5 separate regions of the Homo sapiens genome follow, and regions 1, 2, 4 and 5 are each linked to region 3. The links are contacts of gene promoters, found by promoter capture Hi-C in blood cells and fetal thymus (Javierre and others, 2016). All regions are on one chromosome and are shown on one strand. The core of a region is centred on a gene start or on the middle of the fragment in contact, and the rest is flanking DNA. Distances in the headings are between cores, read along the strand shown.

Region 1 (2,766 bases), core at 93-2,592, 590 kb before region 3:
ATTAAGGATCCTCCCCCCGGCCATCCTGACCAGGAGCAGACAGTGCGATTCAGACCCAGGTGGGATGACCCCCGTGCCCATATTCCTAATCACTGTTTTGCTGCCCCAGGCAGAGGCAGAACCGGGGCCGGAGTTCACTGGTTAAGGGATCAGATTTTGACTCAACACAACAAAAAATTTCCTAGCAAAAGGCACTGTATAAAATAATTATCCTACCCACAGCCCTGAGAGTTAGATGCTGTGATGTTCACTTCACAGATGAGGAAACAGAGTCAGAGGGTATATGATGGACCCACACCTGGTAAACGGCTGCCTGGGCTTCCCGCTCAAATTGGCCTGATTCCTAAACTCATGCTCCTTCTACTGCAGCTCGGCCTCCTGGGAAGGCAGCCTGTTCCCTGCCATGTGAAGTGCGCTGGCAGAGATCAGAACGGCATCCTCGAAAGCAACCCACGATTCTGCTTAACTCTTGGTTAATATTGAAGAGGAACTTGAGATCCACAGAGGGAAAGTGGCTTGCTGCAGGGATACGGGTAAGAGGAACTCAGCTTTCCGGACTGCCTCCCAGGTTCTTTCGGCTGCACTGAGCTGGCTGCATAGCTGGATGTCCACCTGGACTGGAGGGCCTCCGGTCTCAGGGTTCATTGTCACACTGTCACACCTGTGCTTCTGCCTTGATAGAAATGCAATATGGCTGTTCTTGATTTGAGGCATGGTGACTCTCTCCTGGGTTTCTTTTTGGAATCTATGCCTGTGAGAGACTGTATCACTTGTTCAAAATGATTTGTCTCTGCCCTCTCCTCATCGTGACTTGCCAGGAGGTGAAGGGTACAGGCTCACCCCATTAACCTTGGGCTTGCCATATGACTTGTGGGAGGAGGGGACGGCTGCCAGGTCCCAGCAGAGGCTTTATGAGATCCTGGGGGTTCCCGCTTCCCCTCCGGAGCTCCTGCCCTCCAGCATGAGAAGAGCAGGGCCCAGATGGCAGCTGCTCATTCAGCCTCAGCCTGGCATGAGGAGACGTGGAGAACACAGCCAAGCTCGGCAGAGCTGCAGCTGACTCGCAGGATTCTTAAGTGAAAAATAAGTGTTTGTTGTTGGAAGCCATGGAGATTTGAGAATTGCTAGTTACTGCAGCAAAAGCTAATACAGAAATTGGTACACAGAAGTAGGGCTGCCATTACAAAAACCTGAAATATGGGTCATTGGTTTTGGGTTTAGGTGATGGCAAGCTGGAAAGTTGTTAAAGGAAGTTGGAAAAATGGCAACCCAAGATATGCAGTGTTAAAACACCCGGCAAAAAAAGAAAAAGAAAAAAGAAATAACCTATGATAACTTAGAAAATTGGCCTAACTAAACTTGTTTTCAAAACAGAATCTTGCCTGTGTGAACTGGTGTTATAGAATGCCTTTGACACCGTGCTATAAGGAAAAAAAAATGCACCTTGCCTCCTCCCAAAAAACTCACTGCTTTGCAAATACAATTGAAAGGGAAGAGAGAAAATACAACATTTTCAGGATTTTAAAGTGAAGCAATTTCTCACCAAATTAAGGTTGGCCGTGAAAGCACAGCCTACGGGTAAAGACCAAATCAAAGATGCAATCATTGGCTCTTGCGCCGAAACCTTTAGTTGGATTATCAAGGTCCCCAATGAAATCTTTCAACTGCACAAAATGGCCTAGAGAAAGAGACCCAGAATTTGGCCTGTTGGAAGCATGATGTGCTCAGTGTACTTGGAATTGAGTTTAGAGAAAGGAGGACATGCACGAAAAATGACTGTAGGCACACGGGGTTGACCGGAATCAAAGAGATTAAAAACAAACAGGACAGCTTCAAAAGGGACAAATCGATAACTACACTTTCGGCTGGATTAACATAGACCGTGGCATTTGAGATCTAAAACGATCCTCGGCATTCATCCTTCCTATGGGCAGGAAGCAGGTTAAGAAATCTGCTCAGCCATGAAGGAGAGCATGTCTTCCAGCACCTTCCTCAGAGGTAGCCATGGAGGATGACAGAAGAGTGCACCTGGCAGAGGGCAGATTCAGAGCCACGAAAACCACGGCCTGGAAAGTCCTCCCCGGGAGCACGACTGAGGCCCAATCGACACCCCCTACTCCCAGCCTACGGGTCCTTGAAATATTTGCCCAGCAGGACACTAGGACTGCTGTGGACTGTGGGGCCTCCCCCATCCTCTTTCCCAGTGGAAGTACCACTGGGCTTATCCTGTCTTTGAGTCTCTACTGTGTTTCCAGTTCTATTCCGGTGCTTGAAGGATGTGCTCTAGACAGTGATGGCTCCACCAGAGCCTGGGTCCCAAAATGTAAAACACATAGAGCCCAGCTAAGGTTAGGCTGGCCTGGTTGGGCCCAGTGAAGCCACAGCCAACTGGTAGACCCATAGTGAAAAATAAATGGTGTTTTGAGATGGATTCTAGCTATATCACCCAGGCTGGAGTGCTTTCGGCTCACTGCAACCTCCCCCTCCTGGGTTCAAGCGATTCTCCTGCCTCAACCTCCCAAGTAAGTGGGACTACAGGCACCCACCACAACACCTGGCTAATTTTTGTATTTTTAGTAGAGACAGGGTTTCACCATGTTGCCCAGGCTCGTCTCGAACTCCTGACCTCAGGTGATCCGACTGCCTCAGCCTCCCAAAGTGCTGGGATTACAGGCACGAGCTACCACACCCGCTACTTTTTTTTTTTTTTAACCACAGCAAAAACAAATACAATATCCCAGCACAATAACCACAGGCCCAATGTTA
Region 2 (2,876 bases), core at 144-2,643, 610 kb before region 3:
CTCTGTCCTCAAGCAAAAAATCATTTTGCAATAAGAGTTGGGAAAGATGACTGAGCACATGCAAGAGCAAGCCTTTGAACTTCCCTAGCTTCATGGTTTCAGCGTGCTTTTTAAAAATAGCTTCAGCAATTAGACCATGTTTGTGCAGCAACTGCAAACATACCATTTCTGAGTTCCAGGAGCATAAAAACCCTCTAAGCCGTTAATCTTAGGTTTTCTCATTTCTGCCACAATCTCGCTGTGATTTCAATGCAGTTTCTCTCTATATGTGCACATGTACACACATTTCTTCATTTTCTCTGAATTTTTGACATAACAATCTTTGCCCCCTCCTGATTTCCGAAAGCAGAATATTATACACATTGAAAAGATTTGACATGAACCCAGTAAGACACAATAACGTAGGATGAGCAGGAATGAAAATAGGCAAGTACGGTAATAATGCAGACAAGCATATTGCAGCAGCAACTTGCACCTAATTATGATAAAGGCATAAATGAACTGTATAATGCAAATGCTTTCAACCAAATATGAGGAAAAGCTGCAAATGGGTTTGCACTAAATGCAAAATGCTAAGCTATCCCCAGGGCTGGGCCTTCATAACCGCTCCTTACCTTTTTCAACATCTGGAGTAGATGCTTCTTCCTTTATAATAGGGCAAGAAGCTTTCAGAAAAGCAGGCACCATCAGGGAAGGGAGTATGGTATAGCAGAGTCAGCCCTGGGCCCTGGCGCTAGTATCACCACTAACTTAATGTGTAATCTGGGGCAAATCAGTCATCTCCAGTCATTTTTATTTACTCTGGCTTAAAGGTTAGTGAAGCAAAAAATAAAGAGAAAATGTGGAGGAAAATCAAAGAGAAATTGTCAGGGGTCAGCATCTGTCTACCCCAAAATATGTTTTCTTATTTTTGCTGGGCTTGGAGAGAACAAGAATAGATGGATGTCAATAAACCACTGGTGAACATACTCAAGGGGGTTTAGGAGAGTTGGGATTGAATGAGGGAAAGGATGTTACCAGAGCACTAACATAGTCCAGAGAAAAGAATGGATGAGGGGAATAAAGATAAGTGTAACAGGGCCGGGCACGGTGGCTCACGCCTGTAATGTCAGCACTTTGGGAGGCCGAGGCGGGTGGATCACGACGTCAGGAGATCGAGACCATCCTGGCTAACATAGTGAAACCCCATCTCTACCAAAAATACAAAAAATTAGCTGGGCGTTGTGGCGAGCGCCTGTAGTCCCAGCTACTCGAGCGGCTGAGGCAGGAGAATGGCGTGAACCTGGGAGGCGGAGGTTGCAGTGAGCCGAGATCGTGCCACTGCACTCCAGCCTGGGTGACAGAGCGAGACTCCATCTCAAAAAAAAAAAAAAAAAAAGATAAGTGTAAGAGAAAGGTCAGAGGAGGGGAGAGGGAAGGGCCAGGAGGCAAGAAGACCGGGAGCCATCTAGAGAACCAGGTACGCTTAGCGCGAGCCAGGAGCTGGAGGCATTTCCATACCGATGCCCTGAAGGCTTCATGGCAGGGCCCCCGGTACCCCTTGCTCTGCCCACCTCCCAGATGCTTCCTTCAGGCAACTCCTTCTTCATTTTAACTGTTTTCCCTGTCATTAAACCCTCCTTAATCACAAGCTCTCACTTTAGAAGGGGAGGGGAAGATGAAGAGAAGAGAAAAACAAGAGCCTGATCCACATCTTGCTTGCCTTCGGCCCTCCACGGTTGCTTTGAGCCCTTACATGAAAACTGTGACTTGCATCTCGTGGGAACAGATGTCGTAGTGGAAAGGTCACTGCACTTTTTTTTGGTTAAGGACTAGAAATCTTTTTCAAGCAAGTCCATGTATAAATAAAGAAATCGGGTCTTCTTCTCCACCCAGCTGCCAAGTCCCTTAGGTCTCCTTCCTCTTCCTTCTGTCAACTGTCTTGAGCCCCCACGGGCCAGACCGTGCCGGTCTCTGCCAGAGGAGAATGATAAGTAAATGCATGAAAAGCCATCCGTGGGGTGGGCCCAGGGGGCAGGAGAGCCCAGAAGCGGGTGCCCCAGCCATGCCTGCCTGGGAGAGGGAGGTATTTGGAGGAGTTGTGGGTGGTTGGCTTCCCTATCTTCAGTCCACTGAAGCTTAGCTTGAGCAATCAGTACCTCTTCCCCGGATAAATATCAAAGCCTCTCACTGGCCTTTCTTCTTGCTTCAGCGCCTCACAGAATGCAATGTTTCTTGAACCACACTCTGTGGCACGCTGGTGTTGTACTTGCTTATTTGGTCATGCAAAAACACTGAGTGCCTACTGTGCACCAGTTACCGTGAAAAAGAGGTTTTGTGGTCAAATACATTTTGGAACTCTCTCTTCTCAGAGTTCACAATACACGCATTAGCATCTGAAAGCAAATTTTGGAATAAATAAAGAAAGCTCCTCCTCCTATAGCCTAAGAAACACATTTAGAAATGGATCCACTGGCTCATCCTCTCTATTACGGAGTCCTCTTCCTAAAACACAGCGCTCATCACGTAGCTCCTCGGCTTTAAACCTTCAACGAGGGAACAAAATAAACTTCGACTCTGCTCAAGCTCCTCTGTAGTTTGGTTTGTTTCCCAGACTTCCTTGGCCGATCCTTTGTTCTAAGTGAACAGGGCCCCCTTGCCCTGCACGCCCCCGCACCTACAAGCTCTTGCTCAAGTTGGCCCCTTCCCTAGAATGCCCTCCCCCACCTCATCTCTGCTCTGAGTCATCCTTCCAGGTGCAAGTCAAACGTCTCCACAGCAAGGTGAGTACTTTATCCAGCTCCCTCAGGTCACATATTTGCACCCTGCACTAGATTATAGCATGATTCACTACTGAGGGAAATTTATAATTTCCCCTTAAGCTCCTCCAGGGCAGG
Region 3 (2,700 bases), core at 8-2,507:
GAGCTCACCACTGTATTCTAAACAGAAGCCAATAGAGGGAGAAAAACAAAGCCAAGTGCAAAAGCTGTGGGCACTGAAAGTTTTGCTCCACCGGCCGCGCAGCACCCACTTGGGGTCGGGCTTTGGGACTTGGGGGAGTCAGGAGCAGGCGGGGGCTGGGGAGAGGACGAGGCCCTGGGGAGGGGCTGGAAAAGGCTTTTCACAGCGACTGGCACTTGATATTTCCAAGTCTTCTGGATGTCACTCACCGGAAACCAGACCCTGCGGTGCGAAGACTCAGGTACAGACCAGCCCCTTTTTCATCCATGCAATGGGAAGGGGACTCGGGCATCCTTTTAAGGAGCTGAGAAATGGGTCCTCAACTTAAAAATTTTTGTTTGTGCTACTGCGGTATAAAAAAAATAAAACGCAAAGTAGCAGACGGGGTGCAGGCTCTACGGGGCTCCGTTTCCCTCTCCTCCGAGTCTGGCGTGGAGGAGCCCCTGGGCTCCCTAGAGCCCCCAGCAAGGCGCATCCCGACCCGGGCCGGGAAGCGGGGGGACCCCGGACACACTCTCGCTGCTCAAGTTCGCGCCTCCGCGCCCCGAGGCGACGCCCCCGGCCCGCGACCCCGCGCGCACCTACCTTGCGCCAGCGCCCGGAGCAAGTGCAGCTGCAGCGCCAGCAGCGCCCACCAGCCGCGGCGGCCCGGCCCCAACTTTGCCGCCCGCCGCCCGCCGCACCGCCCCGCGCCCGCCGTGTCCCCGCCGGAGGTCTCGGGCGCCGCCCGGGGTCGCGAGGGCTCCGGGCCGGGGCGCGGCGCCAGCGAGGGGCGGGCGCGGCCGGGCGGGGATCCCCGCGGCCGCCCGGGGCCCGCGCGCTCAGGGGGCTCCGCGCCGCCGCCGCCGCCACCGGCCGCCGAGGGCCGGGCGCCCCGGGCCATGCCGAGCAGCCGCCACCCCGAGCGCCGCGCCGGACGGACGGGCGGGCAGGACAGGCGGGACGGCTCCGAGCGGGCGCGGCCACTCCGCGGGAGGCGCGGCGCCCCCCGGCCCGAGGTGAGCGGCCGCCCAGCGCTGAGGGGCGGCGTCCTGGGTCCCCGCGTGAGGGGCGCGGCGCGGGCCGGGGACGAGCCGGGCGAGAAGAAGTTGTCAACGGGGGAAATTCGCGTCCGGCGCTCACGCAGTCCCGAGCCCGCCGCGCTAGCTCCGAGGGGTCCGCCGGGCGCGGAGGAGCCGCCGCCGCCGCCGCCCCCGCCCGGCGCTGAGAAGAAAGTGCGCCCGCCCGCACGTCGCGGTCGCGCTCGCCCTCAGCTGCCGCGGCCGCCGCTCCCCATTCACAGCCCGGCCGCACGCGCCGCCCGCGCCCGCCGCCCGCCGCCCGCCGTTGATTGGCCGAGGGAGGCGGCGCCCGCTCCCAGGGCCCGCCCCCCAGGCCCTCGCTTGTTTTCAAAGTCGCGGCGCCCGCCCGCCTGCAATTTTGTGCCGGCCGCGGCGCCTGGCTCGGGCGGCTTCCCGCGCCGGCTGCGCCCCCTAGGGACCCGTAGTGGGGACTGCAGGCGGCGTCGATTCGGCACGCGCTCCCGTGGCGGGCTCGCGGGCGGGGGTGGTGCATCCTCGCCCGGCCCCGCAGCGGTGCGGGCGCCCGAGTGGGAAGGGCTCAGGTGCAGCAGGACGCGCAGATCGTGCGGCAGCCCAGGGCCGAGGGCGGAATAGGGCGCGCCCCGAGAGGCGCCCGGCTACCACCAGCTAGCTCAGTGCTTGGGGGTGACGCGCCAAGTTACCGTAATTGCAAACACGCGCAATCGGGTTTTTAATTTCTAGCAACCAAAGGCACCACTGGGTGCAAACTCGCCTCCTGTTCAGAGGAGTGGATATGGCATTGTAGAAGCGTCCAAGGTCACTTTTGGCCGGCGCTGGAGGAGGGCGGGGTAGGGAGGGACACATTGCAGGTTTCCCACCGTGGAGTGGGCGAGTCTTGGGGCAGGGTCGGCCAGTGGGAGGGTCTCCCAGGGCGGGACCCGGGAGCCTGTGGGGCTGGGGGTGGGGACGGGCGCCGACGCTCAGCATGTGGTAAGCATTAGCAGAGTTTATGGGGTGAACTAAGCGCACTGGAGGCTGAAAGGCCAGCATTTTTGTGGGAGGAGAGCTGGAGGTGACACGCACTGCCTCTGGAGTTGGCCCGGGAGGAGCCTGGGGACGTGTGATGATGGTCGCATGAGATCATGTAAGAGATGAACGCAGAGGGGCTGGGTGTGAGCCCAGCACGGGGCTGACTCCCCAGGAATCACCTGATGCAGTAGGTTTATTGTCCCAGCCAAGAAAGACCCCGGGCGAGTGGAGAGCAGGTCACAGGGCTGGGGTCTGGGATAGGAGCCAGCTCCTGCTCACAGAGCGCCTATGGTATTTGTCAAATAACTGATTGGTGGCTCAATATTAGCCTCTGTACACGTCCCCTAAGACTTAACAATGACCACGTGAACAAAACAGGGAAACTGAGGTCCAAGTACAGCCGCCGAACAGGAGGTGGTTTCAGAAAGAGGCCTCCCATCTGCCCCCTTTCCACACCATGCTAGGAGGGGCAAAAAAGTTAAAGGAGCCACGGAGTGCCCTGTTCTGAGGATATAGTGAGGGCGCATAGATGGGACGAGCCGGAAGAGGACAGCTCCCCAAGGACATGGGGATGAGACTGGAGGCAGAGAGGCATGTCTGTTTTTATCTT
Region 4 (2,758 bases), core at 222-2,721, 570 kb before region 3:
AGAGATGGAGAAGAAGCTGAAGTGGGGATAAAGAGGGGACGCCTACCACAGCCCCTTTCCCACTGCAGAGAGCCAGCTTGACACACGATTGCATAGGAGAGGCAAAAACTCGCTCCGAGAGCCTTTCCTCTATGTGGGACTAAACAGTTTAATTTGTGATCTGGGGATTATCTTGGGTATTAAAGGAACTAAAGAACGATTTGGTTTTCTGAGAGTGACTTAAAAGGTAAGTGGCAGAAACTGGCTACAGCAAACTTGTGCTTTCAGCTCCTAGAGGTAGAGAGCTGGAAAGAACATTGCTCTCACTCTTACCACAGGAAAAATGCTGGACGAAGTGCAGACTAATGACTTTTCTTGACTCTGTCAGAGAACCAAGGGTACAGGGAAAAAACTAACTCAAAACCTAGAAAATCCAGAAAGAGATAGACATTTCCAGGGAGAAACAGACCCAACCATTTGCTTATCTGGGACAGACACCTTGAACTCACTATAAGCCCATAGGAAGATTCAACTAGAAGTCTGAATAAACTGCCTAAGGCCAAGTATGGGCTAGTGAGCGTGTATAAAGCCCCACAGACCAGGACATAAAGGGGTTAAGAGCCTAGAGTAGGATTTTCCTCCAGGAACCCTAAAGGGTGCTCTCAGGGCAGCTCAATGAGAAACCTAAGACAGCTTCCCCCACTTGGTGCTGGATGTGGGGGAAGAACAGGCACCTCTGCCAAAACTCTCCTGAGACGTATCTCCCCTATGTTCCTGGAAGAACAAAAGCTTTAATCTATAGGGTGAAGGACAAAAAACTAAAGCTTTAAGGCACTGCTAGAATCTTACTGTGGTCAGAAAGAAATGGTAGCTACCACCAAACTCTGCACACACTCATCACCCCCATCTTCCCTAAGGAATGAAAGCCTTACTATGCAGGAGAAAGAGCAAAAAACAAAACAAAAACTGTAGCATGAGGGCAGGGGTGGGATCGCACTGCAGATAGGGCAGGGGAACGGGGGTGGAGAAGGAGTTCTACCCCTGGAAGGGAGGCGGGAATATATGCTAGGCCCAGCATGACAGGTAGGGAAGGAGCAGGAACACTTGTCAGGACTACAGCCTCAGGCCCCAGATTCACAGGCACCTGCCTAAGCCTGAGGCTTAATCAGAACAGAAAAGAATGCCCTCAATCCCTGCACACACATGACCTGCACACACTCAAAAGCACTAAGCAAACATAATTGAAGGATACAGCAGGGGAGCTGCAAGAAGCAGATTCCCTGAGGGGACCAGTGCAAAGAGAAGACTCAAAGTCAAGTCAGGGAAACTCAAAAGACAAATGGGGAGCAGATACGGAGACAAGTCTGAAAAATTATCCCATGCTATGAACACATGATTCCACTAGAGAAACTTAGGCCTCGAGTAGAATGAGGGTAACCATGGCAATGATAAACTTTAAACCTAGCCAAATCTCTGACCAAACGAACAAAAACCTTCATATTAATGGCCCAGTGGAAAGAAAAGCATGCTCATCTCCAACCACACAAAATATTGACCTCAGTGTCTACTGTCCTATTATATGACATAACAGGCTTTCAACAACAACAAAACTATTATGAGGCATATGAAAAAAAGCAAGGAAAAATACTCCACAAAGAGACAAAACAATGATCAGAAGAAGACTCAGACATGACATGTATCTTGGACCTATCAGACAAAGAATTTAAAACAACTATAGCTAATATGTTAAAGGCTCTAATAGTAAATAACATATAGGATCAGACGGGTAATTTCACACAAAAATGGAAACTATAAAAATAATTAAGTGAAAAAGAATTAAATGGAAATGATAGAAATCAGAAAAACAGTATTTAGATTAAAAATGCTTTTGATGGGCTCATGAGCAGACTTGAAAAGACTACTGAACTTGAAGATGGGTCAATAGGAATTAATCAATCTGAAATGCAAAGAGAAAAAACAAGGCAAACAAAACTAAATGGAGCATGCAAGCACTGTGGAAGAATATCAAACAGCCTAACATATACATAATTGGAATTATAAAATCAGAAAGAAAAACAGAAGGGACAGAAGAAATGGCTGAAAAAATAATGGGCTAGGATTTTCCAAAATTAGTGACAGACACCAAATCATCAAAGCTTAGAGGACATCAAGCAGCAAAACAAAACAAAACAAAACACAAACTCTACATCTAGTTATGATATTCAAACTACTGAAAAAGAAGGGACAAATAAAAAATATTTAAGGAAGCCAGAGGAAAAAAAGACATATTGCCTACAGAGGAGCAAGATAAGAAATATAGCAGACTTCTTGGCAGAACTCATGCAAACAAGAAAACAGTGGAATTACATCAAATGTTTAAAGAAAAACATCTCAATACAGGATTCTACACCCAGTAAAAATATCCTCTAAAAGTGAAGGAGAAAGAAAGACTTTTCAGACAAAAACAAATCTCATGGAATTTACTGCCAGTAGACATACTCTTCATGAAACATTAAAGAAAATTCTTCAGGCAAAAGGAGTATGATATAGGTCAGAGACTGGGATAAATACGAAGACATGAAAAGCATCATAAATGGAATAAAGGAAGGTAAATTAAAATTATTTATTTTTAAGTTCTCTAAAAGATTACTGACTGGTTAAAGCTGTAATAGTAAAAATATCTGGTGTGTTGATACTGTATGTAAAAGTAAAATGTATGACAATAATAGTAGAAGGAATGGGAGAGGGGAATTAGAAATACACTGTTATAAGGTCCTTA
Region 5 (2,700 bases), core at 87-2,586, 560 kb before region 3:
CTACATTCAGTCTTCATCCTTCCTTTCCAGAAAGGAAGTTAAGCTTCTTGTGATTTTTTTTTCCTGGGTATTTTTTGAATTCACTTAGATGTATATACATGTAGTAATAAAATATATAAAGTATTGTTTTGCAGTTTTGTTTTTTTGAGATGGGGTCTCACTATGTGGCCCAGGGTGGTTTTGAACTCCTGGGCTCAGCAATCCTCCCGCTCTTAGCCTCCTGAGTAGCTGGGATTACAGGCATGTGCCACGGTGCCTGACTTATCTTTTGTGTTTTTTTAAAAAAATGATATCATATTATATGTACTGTTTAGCAATTTTCTCTTTTCACCACACAAAAACGTATCTTGGAGGTGTAGCCATTCTCATATGTACAAATTTACCTCATTATCCTTAACTAATCCATTGTATTCCATAGCATGAATATACTATGGTTTAAACCATTCATTATTAAGGCTTCCATATTAACTTCAGAATCATCTTGACAAGTTTCATGATTTACCGAATTTATAGATTTGGGGAGAGGTGACAACTTTACATAATTGAGTCTTTCCATCCATGTATATGGTATATCACACTATTTGTTCCTTTTAAAAATCGTCATTAAAGTTCTATAGATTCTTAACTATTTCTTGATCAGTTTATTCAAAAATATTTAATAGCTTTGCTTGCTACAGTGAATGGTATGTTCCTATTTTACTGTATTTCTATTAAATTTCTCTTATTCCTGATGAACAGGAAAAAGAATTTTTCCATATCTATCTTCTATCTAGCCACCCTTCAGAACTCTCATTAATCCTAATATTCAGTTTATTATCTTAGGTTTTCTTTCATTTTTTTTTTTTGAGACAGGGTCTTACTCTGTCGGCCAGGCTGGAGTGCAGTGGTGCCATCATAGATCACTGCAGCCTTGACCTTCTGGCCTCAAGCAATCCTCCCACCTCAACCTCTCAAGAAGCTGGAACTACAGGCATGCACCACCACACGTGGTTAATTTCTTTTATTATTTTTTGTAGAAATGGGGTCTCACCATGTTGCCAAGGCTGGTCTTGAACTCCTGGGCACAAACAATCCCCCTGCCATGTCCTCCCAAAGTGCTGGGATTACAGGTGTGAGCCGTCACACCCAGCCTGTCTTAGGTTTTCTACGCAAGTAATCATATTGCCTGAAATAATGACAGTTTGCTCTTTTTCTAATATCTATACCTTTTTCTTTTCAGTTTCTTTTTCCCCTTTCTCCTCCTCCTTCCCCTTCCATTTTGTCCTGCTGCACTGACTGTGTCCTGAGTACAATGTTAATAGTAGACATCTTTCCCCAGATTCAGACTTCAAACTTAATGCTTCTAATAATTTATCAGTATGTTGTTTCCAGTAGATTTTTGTTAGATTTCCTCTATTTAGATAAGTTTTCCCTCTATACCCAGGTGACTAAGAGTAATTTTTTTCAGTTAATAGGAGTTGATTTTTTCATAGTGTAATTCTGAACCATCCTTACATTTTCGGGGATTCAATCTACTTGGTTATGGTATACTGATTATGCCTTGTAATTTCTTGGTAGAGCCTTCCTTTTCAGCAGGAAATATCCCTCTTTGTCCCTTTTAACACTGTTTACCTTGAATTCTAAGTTTTCTTATATTAATGTTGCTCAACCTAATCAACATGGTTAATGTTTGACATGTTTTCATACTATGCAATTAAAAAATTTATATCCTATAAGTAGCATATAACATAGCTGTTTTTCGAGGTGGAGTTTCGCTCTTGTTGCCCAGGCTAGAGTGCAGTGGTGTGATCTCGGCTCACTGCAATCTCCGCCTCCCATGTTCAAGCGACACTCCTGCCTCAGCCTCCTGACTAGCTGGGATTACAGGTGCCCGCCACCATGCCTGGCTAATTTTTGTACTTTTAGGAGACATGGGGTTTCACCATGTTGGCCAGGCTGGTCTTGAACTCCTGATCTCAGGTGATCCACCTGCCTCGGCCTCCCAAAGTACTGGGATTGCAAGCGTGAGCCACCATGCCCGGCCAGCTGCTTTTTTTTTTTTTTTTTTTTTAACATTACCTGAAAGGCTCTGTCCTTTAGAGTTGGGTTGAAGTTAGTCTTGTTAGTCAAAATTAGTCACATTTACTGAGATTATTAATCTATTTGAACTACCTGATATTTTATGCACTTATTTTGCCAAAATTCTAGGTTGTTTCATTTTTTAAACCCTCTTTTCATATATTTTCTTGATCAGATTTACATTATTTTTTTCTCCAGTAGTTTGGAAGTCATGAATTCAGTTTCTATTCTTCTACTAGCTACCCTTAAATTTTTAACATTTACAGAAACTTACTTTTTCCTTGTATCTAGACTGAATCAATAAGCATATCCTTCCCTTGAGCAAGATAAGAAAATTAGTATGCATTTTCTTTATTCCTCCCTTACTCCACATCTCTCTTCTCCCCAGTCTTCCAAAATCTCTGGTTGATAACTCTTGGAATGTTAGTTCTGTATTAATGCTATCAATAATAAACATTTAGATTTAACAGTAAGTTTCAGTAAATTCTTTATTATTCATTTTTATGCAGCTTTTTTACTGCTGGAGTACATCATTTATTAATTCTTTCACCATTCATTAATTGAAGCTTTAGAGACTGTGAATGTCTGAAAAAGTCTTATAGTCTTCACTTCATTTTGACCCTTGAAAGGCAGCACAGATTT

What was found. The method cuts DNA at HindIII sites, captures the fragments that hold promoters and counts their contacts. A CHiCAGO score of 5 or more calls a contact.
Region 1: a contact is called between a fragment that was not itself captured here and the fragment with the promoter of SDK1 in region 3, in 14 of 17 cell types (activated CD4 T cells, naive CD8 T cells, non-activated CD4 T cells and 11 more). The highest score is 27.2, in activated CD4 T cells.
Region 2: a contact is called between a fragment that was not itself captured here and the fragment with the promoter of SDK1 in region 3, in 8 of 17 cell types (M0 macrophages, M1 macrophages, non-activated CD4 T cells and 5 more). The highest score is 9.1, in M0 macrophages.
Region 4: a fragment that was not itself captured here is called in contact with the fragment with the promoter of SDK1 in region 3 in 7 of 17 cell types (activated CD4 T cells, naive B cells, non-activated CD4 T cells and 4 more); the score reaches 8.6 in activated CD4 T cells.
Region 5: a contact is called between a fragment that was not itself captured here and the fragment with the promoter of SDK1 in region 3, in 3 of 17 cell types (total B cells, non-activated CD4 T cells and activated CD4 T cells). The highest score is 5.3, in total B cells.

The regions. Positions count from the first base shown.
Region 1 is chr7:3,890,589-3,893,354 of GRCh38, reverse strand. The region is part of intron 5 of SDK1 (sidekick cell adhesion molecule 1); the gene reads right to left. Among named protein-coding and RNA genes, the nearest start is that of SDK1-AS1, 540 kb to the right of the region's middle. The HindIII fragment of the contact is 3,141 bases long and covers 1-2,766 here.
Region 2 is chr7:3,911,795-3,914,670 of GRCh38, reverse strand. The region is part of intron 5 of SDK1 (sidekick cell adhesion molecule 1); the gene reads right to left. Among named protein-coding and RNA genes, the nearest start is that of SDK1-AS1, 560 kb to the right of the region's middle. RefSeq lists an enhancer at 2,567-2,876. The HindIII fragment of the contact is 1,452 bases long and covers 668-2,119 here.
Region 3 is chr7:3,299,809-3,302,508 of GRCh38, reverse strand. It overlaps SDK1 (sidekick cell adhesion molecule 1), which reads right to left and starts at 1,257. Exons shown (of 45, transcript NM_152744.4): 1 at 625-1,257. The coding sequence starts at 922. SDK1-AS1 (SDK1 antisense RNA 1) reads left to right here. Exons shown (of 3, transcript XR_001744897.3): 1 at 1-280. RefSeq lists enhancers at 456-956, 1,666-2,177, 2,178-2,690 and a silencer at 1,231-1,780. The HindIII fragment of the contact is 8,975 bases long and covers 1-2,700 here.
Region 4 is chr7:3,872,843-3,875,600 of GRCh38, reverse strand. The region is part of intron 5 of SDK1 (sidekick cell adhesion molecule 1); the gene reads right to left. Among named protein-coding and RNA genes, the nearest start is that of SDK1-AS1, 520 kb to the right of the region's middle. The HindIII fragment of the contact is 1,332 bases long and covers 806-2,137 here.
Region 5 is chr7:3,855,832-3,858,531 of GRCh38, reverse strand. The region is part of intron 5 of SDK1 (sidekick cell adhesion molecule 1); the gene reads right to left. Among named protein-coding and RNA genes, the nearest start is that of SDK1-AS1, 510 kb to the right of the region's middle. The HindIII fragment of the contact is 2,581 bases long and covers 46-2,626 here.